4 separate regions of the Homo sapiens genome follow, and regions 1, 3 and 4 are each linked to region 2. The links are contacts of gene promoters, found by promoter capture Hi-C in human tissues and cell types (Jung and others, 2019). All regions are on one chromosome and are shown on one strand. The core of a region is centred on a gene start or on the middle of the fragment in contact, and the rest is flanking DNA. Distances in the headings are between cores, read along the strand shown. Region 1 overlaps SMYD3 (SET and MYND domain containing 3). Region 2 holds the start of KIF26B (kinesin family member 26B). Region 3 overlaps SMYD3 (SET and MYND domain containing 3). Region 4 has its middle 390 kb from the start of SMYD3-AS1.

Region 1 (3,117 bases), core at 153-2,652, 680 kb after region 2:
AAAGAGTACAGTTTGTTTTTTCTCTGAGTAACAGATATCAGTTTCCTAAAGCTCACTGCCTTTCTTGGAGGAGGGAGGGGAGGCCTTTGCCAACTTTGTCTACCTCCACGCTTTTTGGGCTTACTTTCTAATGAATGGGCAGGTCTGGGGCATCTTTTACCACATTCAGTCCAGAAAGGATCTGTCTGTCTCATCTAACCTAAAGCCTGGCTCAATAATGCCTGGTCAAGAGGCTGGGTCTCACCCTTCGGGGCTCGTTTATATAATGAGTGTCTCTGGGTTCAGATCTTCTCAATAAAAGATGTCTGCCTAGCACAATCCTTCTGAAATTTAATGGCTGCAACCCTGACAGCCTTCAGGCTGGGAATTTATCCGACATCAAATGAACAGGCAGCAAACAGGATGGAGCAATCTTTCCCAAAGTGTGTTCCATGGAACTCCAGGGTTCCATGGGCAGTTAAGTTTGGGACAATGCATTCCACCCCTGTCTTATTTCTAAGATTCTAAGACATCATCAGTTTTAAGCTCCTCATCGATTTAATGTTTTTTTTGTTTTTTTTTTTTTGAGAGTTGAGGAGAAGACGACACCTGATTATAAGTAATATAGTTTTGTTTTTAACACACAGTAAGAGCCTACATTTATCTAGATGAGCACTCAGGATTTCTTCTTTAGTATCTCAGTTACAGTTTGCATCTAATCACTCTTTGCCATCTGAGTCTAAGGGTTCACTGAGTCACTTTTGACCATTAGAAGTTATATGGAATCTTAGAGGGACAAGTTGCTTTTCATAAACTTATGATCTTGGTCTCCTTTGTATCCTTAGAATAAACAACATAATGTTGAATCCTGTAAAGAAATATTCAAGTTTCATGTGCCTTTTTTTATAAGCTTATTGTTTCATATTTTCCTTAATTGAATAACGTGACTGAAAGGTATTGACTTTGCTAAGTGTCAGCTGGAAGCTCTTGACAGATTCTTGGAGATGGAGTGATAGTTCTTCATAATGGGGGAATCAGCATTCCAAGAACTGTCAAACCACCTTCTCCGCACAGTGAAGCTTCCACGATCCATTCCTAGACATTTGGCAATCTCTGTTGCCTTTAATTACTGCCCGGAATATGTGACAAAAAAAAAAAAAAAACCTGCTTTTATAATGCTGATTCATAACAATGTTTTTAAAATACACATTTTGGAATAATTTTAGATTTACAGAAAAGTTGCAAAGATAGTAGAGTGTTCCTATACACCCTTTACCCAGTCCTCTGTTGCTAACATCTTACATTACCAAGGAACATTTGTCAAAACTAAGAAGCAAATGTTGGTATGTGACTATTAACTAAACCCCAGGCTTTACTTAGATTTCACCCGTGCATCTACCCACGTCTCTTTTATGTTCTGTTCTGACAACAATGCATTCAGTTGTCATGTTGCCTCAGTCTCCTCTGCTCTGTGGCAGTTTCTCAATCTTTTCTTGACAGTCTTGAAGCGTCCTGGCCAAATGTACTGTACAATGTACTCTGATCTGTGTTTCTCTCTTGCTTTTCTCAAGACTAAATGGAGGTATTTTTGTAAAAAATGCCACAGAAGTAAAGTACCCTTCTCATTACATCCTATCACAGGGGACGTGGCAGCCACATGGCCTCACTTGTGAAGCTAACCTGATCCCTTAGTTAAGGTAGTGTTTGCCAAGTTTTTCCACTGCAAGGTGTAGCAAATGAAGGGATCTAAGTTAAATTCAACTTTGGTGGACTCCCTATTTTAAGAACTCACCTGAGGTGCCATCAAATGGGCAAGCATGTACAAAGACTGGCTAGGTCCCTGCATCTTGTGCAGGCAGGGACAACCTCAGCGTCCTGGCCAGGGCCGGGAGCTCATTGGCGTGAGAAGCCAGACACACTCACTCTCAGGGTCTCACCCGCATGAATCTTGCACCCCATGCACCTCATTTAACTTGCTCTATGCCCATCCCCGCTTCTGACACTGATTCCAAAGTTTACTCTAATTTTAGAAACATTGAAGTATAAAAACATGGGCTTTTTATTTTAGAATCAAGTGTACTGTAAAGGTTCTGGGACATCCTGCAGTAACCTTATTTAACCTACAGTTTCCCAAACTAATTTGATCACAGAGTCCTCTTTTCACTTAAGGCCCTTTCTTCACCTGAACCTATGAATAGAGGGGAAGGAACAGGGCTGAGCCAGCTGAATCTGCTTTGAGTCCCAGCTGCCTGACTGTGGCAAGCTTCCTCATAAAGGAATGCTCTTCAGAGCCTCTGACATCCTCAGTCACAATTCTGATGCATTTAAATGCATTTCTTTGACCTCTCATACACCCCTGGGAAGGCTCTGCTTGCACGTCTGTGAGCTATGCACGGATATACTGACAGTCCTATGGAAGTGGCTGACCTTTGTCACGATATCCGGGAGTAAAAATGGTCCAGACAGGCAGGTAAGCATGCGAACACTGAGTTCCAAAATCGTATCAGAGCTGCCTGCTCATTGGACCACTGTGAATGAGGATGGGCTCACCCCAGCCCCCTACTAACCTTTGCATCCTTTAACTGCCAGGACTCATACCTGACTCTAATAGAATGAACTTCTGTTCTCTGATACTACATCTTAACGTCCTCTGAGGAACACTGTAGTGGCAGGTGGGTAAGCTGAAAATTTAGGAAGCAAATTATAATAGACATCCTAGCCAACCTCATTTCACAGTTCTGAGCAGCCCCAGTGGAGCAATCTTCCTGTTCGGAGGATCACGGCAACACAGGGAGTAATCACCATTTCAGCCCGTACATGGGAGGCCAGAAAGGGAGATCCTAGTGTCATTTAGGCCCAGGCTCTGCCTTGGCTATTGACAAGGTCTTTTAGGGTATGGGGTTACATTTTTGTCCCACTAAATGACAGCAGCATTTGGTGGGTAACATGCATACATAAGCGCATAGGGCCATCCATCAAATCAACAATTCATATAGTGAGTCTCTTGGGGAAGACATTCCCACGTTATAGGAACATGGGCCTTTTCCATTATATGAGAAAGTGAACTTACAGATACATAAGGGCAACTATTCCTTTCATTTTTAAAAATTTGTCACCTTTTACCAAAAGAAGAGTGGC
Region 2 (2,978 bases), core at 118-2,617:
ACGGGAGGCACAGAAGAAATTGTCCCCGAGGAAGGCAGAGTGGGGGCGTGGCCCCAGGCTTCCAGAACCCCGAACCTTTGTCTTCTTGCCCCCTCCTGCGTCGTCCACAGCTCAGAAGGAAGTCAGCGACCAGAAAGCCCTGAACGTCCTTCGCGCCCTCGCCCACCCCCGGGCTGGGTCTCCCCGCGGGCGCGGAGATGCCGTTACACCCCACGTGATCCCTGCGCCCGGCCAGTCCTTCCAGAGGCGTCTCGCGGGGTGTTAATTAAAGGTCACAACAAAACAGACCTGCTGGCTCACCAGAAGAAATGTCCTCCCGTGAAATGAAAAATGACACCCCAGAGCAGCCACGTGTGGAGCCTGGCATACGCCGGCTTCCTGCGCTCCTGGGCGCTGCGCCGGGGGACTGGGGCGGGGGGCGATCGGAGAGGGAGCGATGACGGGGTGCTCCGGAGACCCCGCGGGGCCCAGGCGCAGGAAGAAACGGGCGGCGGGGGGCGAGGGGCCCGATCCCACGCAAGGAGAGGCCAAGGCCAGCTCGCGCCACACCCCCTCTCCAGGCCAGAGTCGTCCGCGTGCAGCGCGGCGAAGCCCTCAGTTTCCCCTGCCCGGCAGCGGCCCGCTGGGTCACCAGGCTCACCTGTCCCAGCCCCGGGCGGCTTAGTCCATCACAGACCGGGGCTCGGGCGGGCGGGGGACCAAGGGCCCTAGTCCTGCGGCTGCGGTCGGGGAGGGTGGCCCCCCGGCCGGCCCGGGGTCGGTAGGGCAATTCCAGAAAAGGTTTGCCCGGCAGCTCTCCGAGAACAAAGGGCGGGGGGAGGACCCGGCATGTTTGTGGACTTGTTTGTGACTCAATCCCTTTTGCACGGCGTTTCACAGACAGACCTGCAAGCCTTGTCAGGAAGAGAAAGAACTTGGGGGCGGGGGAGGCTGGGGCACCGCATTTCCGTCCAGCCACGCTCGCTCGCGCGGCCCCCGGGCTCCAGGCTCGCGCAGCGGCGTTTCATTAGAGCCCCGGGCCCGGGCCGCGCGCCAGGAACTTCCCCGCACGCGGCGAGATCGACGATCCCCCGCCCCCAGCCCCAGCCCGGCTCCAGGCCTCGCAATGTCAGGCACGAGCGCCGCCACATAAAATGGATCCCGGCCGGCGCGGCGAGGGCGGCAGGTTCCCGAGGCTCCTCCGCGCTGCGCCCGGGCGCACACGCGCGCTGTGACCGCCGACCGCTCCCGGGCCACGCGGAGCCGCCCCTCTCCCGGCCCTCGCGCAACTGTCAGGCGAAACGGGCCGGCGGATATTGGCTCGGCGACACGCCGAGGCTCCTCCCCGAGTCTGGATCTTTATATTTTGGGAGAATTTCTTTGAACTCAGTTACCAAGCTCGGTGAAGGAGACAAGTTCCCACAGCTGACTCGGCTCGGCTCTCCCACCTTCCCGGCAGCGGCCGCGAGCCCTGATTGTATCCCTCGCTTTCCTCGTGGGGGAGCACGGACTGACTTGGCTGAAGAAAATGCCAGTTCTGTGGATGTGGCCGTGACAAGAGGACGTGCGGCTGGAAGAGGCAGAAGGGGACGAGGAAAAGCATGCTTTGAAGAGAAGAATAAACCAGCGACCCCAACCCTTTCTGCAAATTGGTGCTATTACTTGTGGGATCCATTTGCTTTCATTCCCTCCCACCCCACCGCTGAAGAAACCTTGCCCTGAGGGCTGAGAGCCAGCCCCCTGCAGCCGGGGGACGCTTCTGGGTTGGAGGACCTTCTGGATGTAGCGTCGGTGGAACCTTTAGATACTCTCCTCTGGAAAAGCCACCATGAATTCGGTAGCTGGGAATAAAGAGAGGCTTGCGGTCTCCACCAGGGGCAAGAAATACGGGGTAAGTTGTGACGGTACGACGCGGAGACGCGTTACCAGACCCATCTCGGCGGAGGTCCCCCTTTCCCCGGGATCGTGCGGCCCCGGCCCCGAGCTCTCCCCCGCTGCAGAGGCGCCCCCGGGGCTGGCGGGGTTGTGAGTGCGCGGAGGCGGGTCGGCCGCGGGGACGCCCGCACGCTCGCCTCGCTCTCGGAATTTTTTCAGCCCTCTCGTTCCTTCCTTTCCACGCACCCGTAACTTTTGCCGCATTCCTGCACTTCTAGGCAGAGTGAAGCCGAAGGGGAGGGTTTCCCATGAATGCTGGGCAGTACCTCGGATCGTTTAGCTGGAGCCGTGAGAGCCTCTCGTTTACCTGCAGGATCCGGAGAGTTGGACCCCGTATGAATAAAAATCCTGAAATCACAGCCCTCCCCCTACCCCCCCCATAGGGTCTTCCAGGATTTTGTTCCCGGGATCTTGCTGGGATAGGTGCCGGCTTCAAAAGCGTGGGGCGCTGAACCTATGGATCCCCCCCGCCTTGCAGAAGCCGTGGAAACGGCCCCGAGCGAGTCCCCTTCCTGACCCCAGGAGGAGGCCACCGGGGACCAGCGCAGGGGTCACCTGGGCGGTGGGGACTCACTTAAGGACAATTAACGAGACAGACGGAGGGCAATTTGGCCGCAGGGCTTGGAGAGGTCCCCAACCGACTCCCGTGGGCGGTTCGAGCGGGTACTTGGTGGCGCACGTATGACCCAGCTCCTGGGCGCTGCAGCCCGCCGCCTTGCAGCCCCTGACACCGGCGTGTCTTCCCCGCAGGTGAATGAAGTCTGCTCGCCCACCAAGCCCGCAGCGCCCTTCTCCCCGGAAAGCTGGTACCGGAAAGCATACGAGGAGTCGCGCGCCGGCAGCCGGCCCACTCCTGAGGGCGCGGGCTCAGCGCTCGGCTCCTCGGGGACCCCGTCTCCCGGCTCGGGCACCTCGTCCCCGAGCTCGTTCACCGGCTCCCCGGGACCCGCCTCCCCCGGCATCGGCACTAGTTCGCCGGGCTCCTTGGGCGGCTCTCCGGGCTTCGGCACAGGCTCCCCGGGCTCCGGCAGCGGCGGCGGCTCCTCCCCCGGCTCGGACCGCGG
Region 3 (3,065 bases), core at 340-2,839, 660 kb after region 2:
TAAAGTTTTTCCACAGCCACTGTCTCACTGAATCAACCCCTAAGAGACAGAAATGAAAATCGCTGTTTTTACAAACTGAGAAATTACGGGCCTTTGAAGTGTTTCACAGCCTTCACAGCCTGCTGGTAAGAAGCAGAGATCAGGCCTTGGACCTGGGTCTTGTGATTCCAAAGCCCATGATCCTTCGGATTCATCAAAGCTCCACTCCAAGTGCCTACTGGGACTGCCTTGCAGCACTCACCTTCTGTAGGTGAGTAGGTAAGTTGCGGCATGCCATTCTTTCAAAAGAACAGTGCACCTCTGTGACCGAATATGGGCCACAGTATCTCAAGGATATTTTGGTCAAAGCCCTGGGGTGTGGGGCAGAAGATAATGTATTCAATGAAGCTTCTAGAGAAAAGCATAATAAATAAAGAAGCTCCTACCTGTCGCTAGCCTTCCTAAATATCCCAAGAAATCAAGAATTTTCTCCCAATGGATTACAGCTGAGCATCTACTCAGAAGAGAAAATCAAGTCCATTTCAGTTTAGACGGCAGCAGCAAACTCCCCACAGAGAGTACTCCCGGGGTGGCTAGGGGGTGGACAGTGCCATTACTGTATCAATCAGGCCAAGGAGTGGGGCTTGCACTACTGTTTGCTAGAATGGAGCTTGGCTCTAAAACAGGATTCTCAGACACATTTCAGAATAGGACGACTGGAACAATGCAATACTCATCTAAGCAACTGCAAAAGCCAGCTACAACCCAACTCAAGGTGCCATCTATTATGAGAGGTCCCCTTCATCTATGTAAAAAAAAAAAAAAAAAAAAAAGAGGAGCCAAGATGGCCGAATAGGAACAGCTCCAGTCTACAGCTCCCAGCGTGAGTGACATAGAAGACGGTGATTTCTGCATTTCCATCTGAGGTACCGGGTTCATCTCACTAGGGAGTGCCAGACAGTGGGCACAGGTCAGTGGGTGCGCGCACCGTGCGCGAGCCGAAGCAGGGTAAGGCAATGCCTCACTCGGGAAGCGCCAGGGGTCAGGGAGTTCCCTTTCCTAGTCAAAGAAAGGGGTGACGGACGCACCTGGAAAATCGGGTCACTCCCACCCGAATATTGCGCTTTTCGGACCGGCCTAAAAAACGGCGCACCACGAGATTATATCCCGCATCTGGCTCGGAGGGTCCTACCCGACGGAGTCTCGCTGATTGCCAGCACAGCAGTCTGAGATCAAACTGCAAGGCGGCAGCGAGGCTGGGGGAGGGGCGCCCGCCATTGCCCAGGCTTGCTTAGGTAAACAAAGCAGCCGGGAAGCTCGAACTGGGTGGAGCCCACCACAGCTCAAGGAGGCCTGCCTGCCTCTGTAGGCTCCACCTCTGGGGGCAGGGCACAGACAAACAAAAACACAGCAGTAACCTCTGCAGACTTAAGTGTCCCTGTCTGACAGCTTTGAAGAGAGCAGTGGTTCTCCCAGCACGCAGCTGGAGATCTGAGAACGGGCAGACTGCCTCCTCAAGTGGGTCCCTGACCCCTGACCCCCGAGCAGCCTAACTGGGAGGCACCCCCCAGCAGGGGCACACTGACACCTCACATGGCAGGGTATTCCAACAGCCCTGCAGCTGAGGGTCCTGCCTGTTAGAAGGAAAACTAACAAACAGAAAGCACATCCACACCAAAAACCCATCTGTACATCACCATCATCAAAGACCAAAAGTAGATAAAACCACAAAGATGGGGAAAAAACAGAACAGAAAAACTGGAAACTCTAAAAAGCAGAGCACCTCTCCTCCTCCAAAGGAACGCAGTTCCTCACCAGCAACGGAACAAAGCTGGACGGAGAATGACTTTGATGACCTGAGAGAAGAAGGCTTCAGACGATCAAATTACTCTGAGCTATGGGAGGACATTCAAACCAAAGGCAAAGAAGTTGAAAACTTTGAAAAAAATTTAGAAGAATGTATAACTAGAATAACCAATACAGAGAAGTGCTTAAAGGAGCTGATGGAGCTGAAAACCAAGGCTCGAGAACTATGTGAAGAATGCAGAAGCCTCAGGAGCCGATGTGATCAACTGGAAGAAAGGGTATCAGTGATGGAAGATGAAATGAATGAAATGAAGTGAGAAGGGAAGTTTAGAGAAAAAAGAATAAAAAGAAATGAGCAACGCCTCCAAGAAATATGGGACTATGTGAAAAGACCAAATCTACGTCTGATTGGTGTACCTGAAAGTGATGGGGAGAATGGAAACAAGTTGGAAAGCACTCTGCAGGATATTATCCAGGAGAACTTCCCCAATCTAGCAAGGCAGGCCAACATTCAGATTCAGGAAATACAGAGAACGCCACAAAGATACTCCTCGAGAAGAGCAACTCCAAGACACATAATTGTCAGATTCACCAAAGTTGAAATGAAGGAAAAAATGTTAAGGGCAGCCAGAGAGAAAGATCGGGTTACCCTCAAAGGGAAGCCCATCAGACTAACAGCGGATCTCTCAGCAGAAACCCTACAAGCCAGAAGAGAGTGGGGAGCAATATTCAACATTCTTAAAAAGAATTTTCAACCCAGAATTTCATATCCAGCCAAACTAAGCTTCATAAGTGAAGGAGAAATAAAATACTTTACAGACAAGCAAATGCTGAGAGATTTTGTCACCACCAGGCCTGCCCTAAAAGAGCTCCTGAAGGAAGCGCTAAACATCGAAAGGAACAACCGGTACCAGCCACTGCAAAATCATGCCAAAATGTAAAGACCATTGAGACTAGGAAGAAACTGCATCAACTAACGAGCAAAATAACCAGCTAACATCATAATGACAGGATCAAATTCACACATAACAATATTAACTTTAAACGTAAATGGACTAAATGCTCCAATTAAAAGACACAGACTGGCAAATTGGATAAAGAGTCAAGACCCATCAGTGTGCTGTATTCAGGAAACCCATCTCACGAGCAGAGACACACATAGGCTCAAAATAAAAGGATGGAGGAAGATCTACCAAGCAAATGGAAAACAAAAAAAAGGCAGGGGTTGCAATCCTAGTCTGATAAAACAGACTTTAAACCAACAAAGATCAAAAGAGACA
Region 4 (2,850 bases), core at 280-2,779, 570 kb after region 2:
GTCACAGTAGAAAGCAAAACCAGACTGAACTCAACTGATGAACGCCCAGGGAGGGAGCATTCAGATGGGCCCAAGCTGGAGGGGAACCGCTGTCCCCGTGGGGGGAATCTGAGTTCCAGCAAGCCTCACCACCATGGGCTAAAGTGCTCTGGGGCCATAAATAAACCTAAAAGGCAGTCTATACCACAAGGACTGTAACTCTTAGGCAAGTCCTAGTGCTGAGCTGGGCTCGAAGCCAGTGGGCTTGGGGAGCATGCGACCTACTGAGACACCACCCAACACAGCTAAAGGAGTGTTTGCACCAGTCCTTCCCCAACCCCAGGCAGCACAGCTCTTGGCTCCAAAAGAGATCCCTCCATTCTGCTTGAGGAGAGGGGAGGGAAGAGTAAAGAGTAAAGAGAACTTTGTCTTACATCTTGGGTACCAGCTCACCCAAAGTAGGATAGGGCACTAGTCAGAGTTGTGAAGTCCCCATTTCAGGTCCTTCCTCCTGGATGACATTTCCAGACACACCCAGGGCCAAAAGGGAACCCACTGCTTTGAAAGGAAGGACCCAGTGCTATCAGGATCCATCACCTGCTGGCTAAAGAGCTCCTGGGTCCTGAATAACCAGCAGCAATATCCAAGTAATATCCAGGTGGTGGTAGCCATGGGCTGCCTGTGGAAACGGGACGAAAGAGTGGGAAGAGCTGGGACTCATGGTTTGAGTGCCAGCTCAGCTGCAGTAGAATAGAACACCAGGTATATTTCTAAGGATTTTGGTTCCAGTACGTGGCTCCTGGACAGCACCTCTGGACCTGCCCAGGGCCTAAGGGAACCCAATGCCCTGAAGAGAAGGACACATGCCTGGTTGGCTTCACCACCTGCTTACTGTAAAGCCCCAGGGCCTCGAGCAAATATAGGCCATAGCCAGGTAGTGCTTCTAGCAGGCCTTGGGTGAAACTCACTACTGTGCTGGCTTCAGGTCTGACCAGTGCAGCCCCAGTGATAGTGGCCACAGGGGAGCTTGTGTCACCTCACACCCAACTCCAGGTAGCTCAGCACAGAGAGAGAGACTATGTTTGTTTGGGAGAAAGTAAGGGAAGAGAACAAGAATCTTTGCTTGGTATCCAGAGAACGCTTGCAGATCTTATCCAAGACCACAAAGGTGGTACCTCTATGAGTCTGCAAGAACCACAGTGTTACCAGGCTTGGGGTGCCTTGTAATACAAACATGACTTAGATAACACACCCAAGTCCTTTCAAATACCTCAAAAGCCTTCCCAAGAAGAACAGGCACAAACAGCCCAGATTGCAAAGACTATAAGTACCTAACTCTTCAATGCCCAGACACCAAAGAACATCCACAAGCATCAAAACCATTCAGGAAAATGTGGCCTCACCAAATGAACTAAATCAGGCATCAGGGAACAATCCCAGAGAAACAGAGATATGCAACTTTTCAGACAGAGAATTCAAAACAGCCATTTTGAGGAAACTCTGAGAAATTCAAGATAACACAGAAATGGAATTCAGAATTCTATCACATAAATTGAACAAAGAGATTAAAATAATTAAAAAGAATCAAGCAGAAATTCTGGAGCTGAAATTGCAAATGACATACTGAAGAATGCATCCGTTATTGGCCTTAAAGAGGAGGTAGAGAAGGAGATAGGGATAGAAAGTTTATTCAAAGGGTTAACAGAGAACACCTCAAACCCAGAAGATATCAATATCTAAGTAAAAGAAGGCTACAGAACACCAAGCAGATTTAACTCAAAGAAGACTACCTCGAAGCATTTAAAAATCAAACTCCCAAAGGTCAACAATAAAGAAAAGATCCTAAAAGCAGCAAAATAAAAGAAACAAATAACCCATTGGAGTTTCAATATAGCTAGCAGCCGACTTCTCAGTGGAGAACTGATAGTCGAGAAGAGCATATTTAAAGTGCTGAAGGAAAAAAACTTTTACCCTAGAATAGAATATCTATCGAAAATATCCTTCATACATGAAGGAAGAATACTTTCTCAGATAAACAAAGGCTGAGGGATTTCAACAAAGACTAGAACTGTCCTACAAGAAATGTTAAAGGAAGTATTTCAATCAGAAAGAAAAGGATGTTAATGAGCAATAAGAAATCATCTGAAAATACAAAACTTACTGGTAATAGTAAGCACACAGAAAAACACAGAATATTAAACATTGTAACTCTGGCTTGTAAACTACTCTTACCTTGAGTAGAAAAGACTAAAAGATGAACTAATAAAAAATAATAACTACAACTATTCAAGACATAGACAATACAATAATACATACATTTAAAAGTTAAAAATATATAAATTTAATATATAAATTTAAAAAGTTAAAAAACACGGGATGAAATTAAAGTGTAGTTAACCTAACCATTATTAGGATTTTTTGCTTCTTTGTTTATGCAAGCAGTCTTAAAATAATGGGTAATAGATATTATTTGTAAGCCTAATGGTAACCTCAAATCAAAAAACATACAATGGATATGCCAAAAATAAAAAGCAAGAAATTAAATCCTACCACCAGAGAAAATCACTTTCACTAAAAGAAAGACAGGAAGGAAGGAAATAAGAAGGAGAAGACCACAAAATAACCATTGCATTGGGCCTGCCTGGGTGGTCCGTGCAACCCAAGAGAGTGAGGAAAAGCAGGGTGGGGCAACAGCCCACCCTTGAGCGGGGTGGAACCAGGTGAGCCCTCACCCCAGGCAAGAAAGGTGGTGAGTGATTGTACAACGCCCCCCCAGGAAGCCATGCTTTTCCCATGGATCTTTGCAACCCGCAGATCAGGAGATCCCCTTGTGCACCCAGCAAGGCCTTGGTTCCCAAGCACAGAGCTGTG

Evidence for each region. Contacts are between HindIII fragments. The study calls those that stand out against the background at their distance.
Region 1: a fragment that was not itself captured here is called in contact with the fragment with the promoter of KIF26B in region 2 in 2 of the 25 tissues and cell types used here (H1 embryonic stem cells and hippocampus).
Region 3: a contact is called between a fragment that was not itself captured here and the fragment with the promoter of KIF26B in region 2, in 1 of the 25 tissues and cell types used here (lymphoblastoid cells).
Region 4: a fragment that was not itself captured here is called in contact with the fragment with the promoter of KIF26B in region 2 in 1 of the 25 tissues and cell types used here (dorsolateral prefrontal cortex).

Annotation. Positions count from the first base shown.
Region 1 is chr1:245,831,934-245,835,050 of GRCh38, forward strand. The region is part of intron 10 of SMYD3 (SET and MYND domain containing 3); the gene reads right to left. Among named protein-coding and RNA genes, the nearest start is that of SMYD3-AS1, 280 kb to the right of the region's middle. The HindIII fragment of the contact is 3,161 bases long and covers 1-2,983 here.
Region 2 is chr1:245,153,618-245,156,595 of GRCh38, forward strand. KIF26B (kinesin family member 26B) reads left to right here and starts at 1,368. Exons shown (of 15, transcript NM_018012.4): 1 at 1,368-1,870; 2 at 2,665-2,978. The coding sequence starts at 1,808. RefSeq lists enhancers at 1-179, 180-855 and silencers at 710-909, 2,777-2,978. The HindIII fragment of the contact is 11,465 bases long and covers 1-2,978 here.
Region 3 is chr1:245,815,728-245,818,792 of GRCh38, forward strand. All of the region lies in intron 10 of SMYD3 (SET and MYND domain containing 3), which reads right to left. Among named protein-coding and RNA genes, the nearest start is that of SMYD3-AS1, 290 kb to the right of the region's middle. RefSeq lists enhancers at 491-1,106, 1,107-1,721. The HindIII fragment of the contact is 3,850 bases long and covers 1-3,065 here.
Region 4 is chr1:245,720,908-245,723,757 of GRCh38, forward strand. No RefSeq gene overlaps it. Among named protein-coding and RNA genes, the nearest start is that of SMYD3-AS1, 390 kb to the right of the region's middle. The HindIII fragment of the contact is 4,564 bases long and covers 1-2,850 here.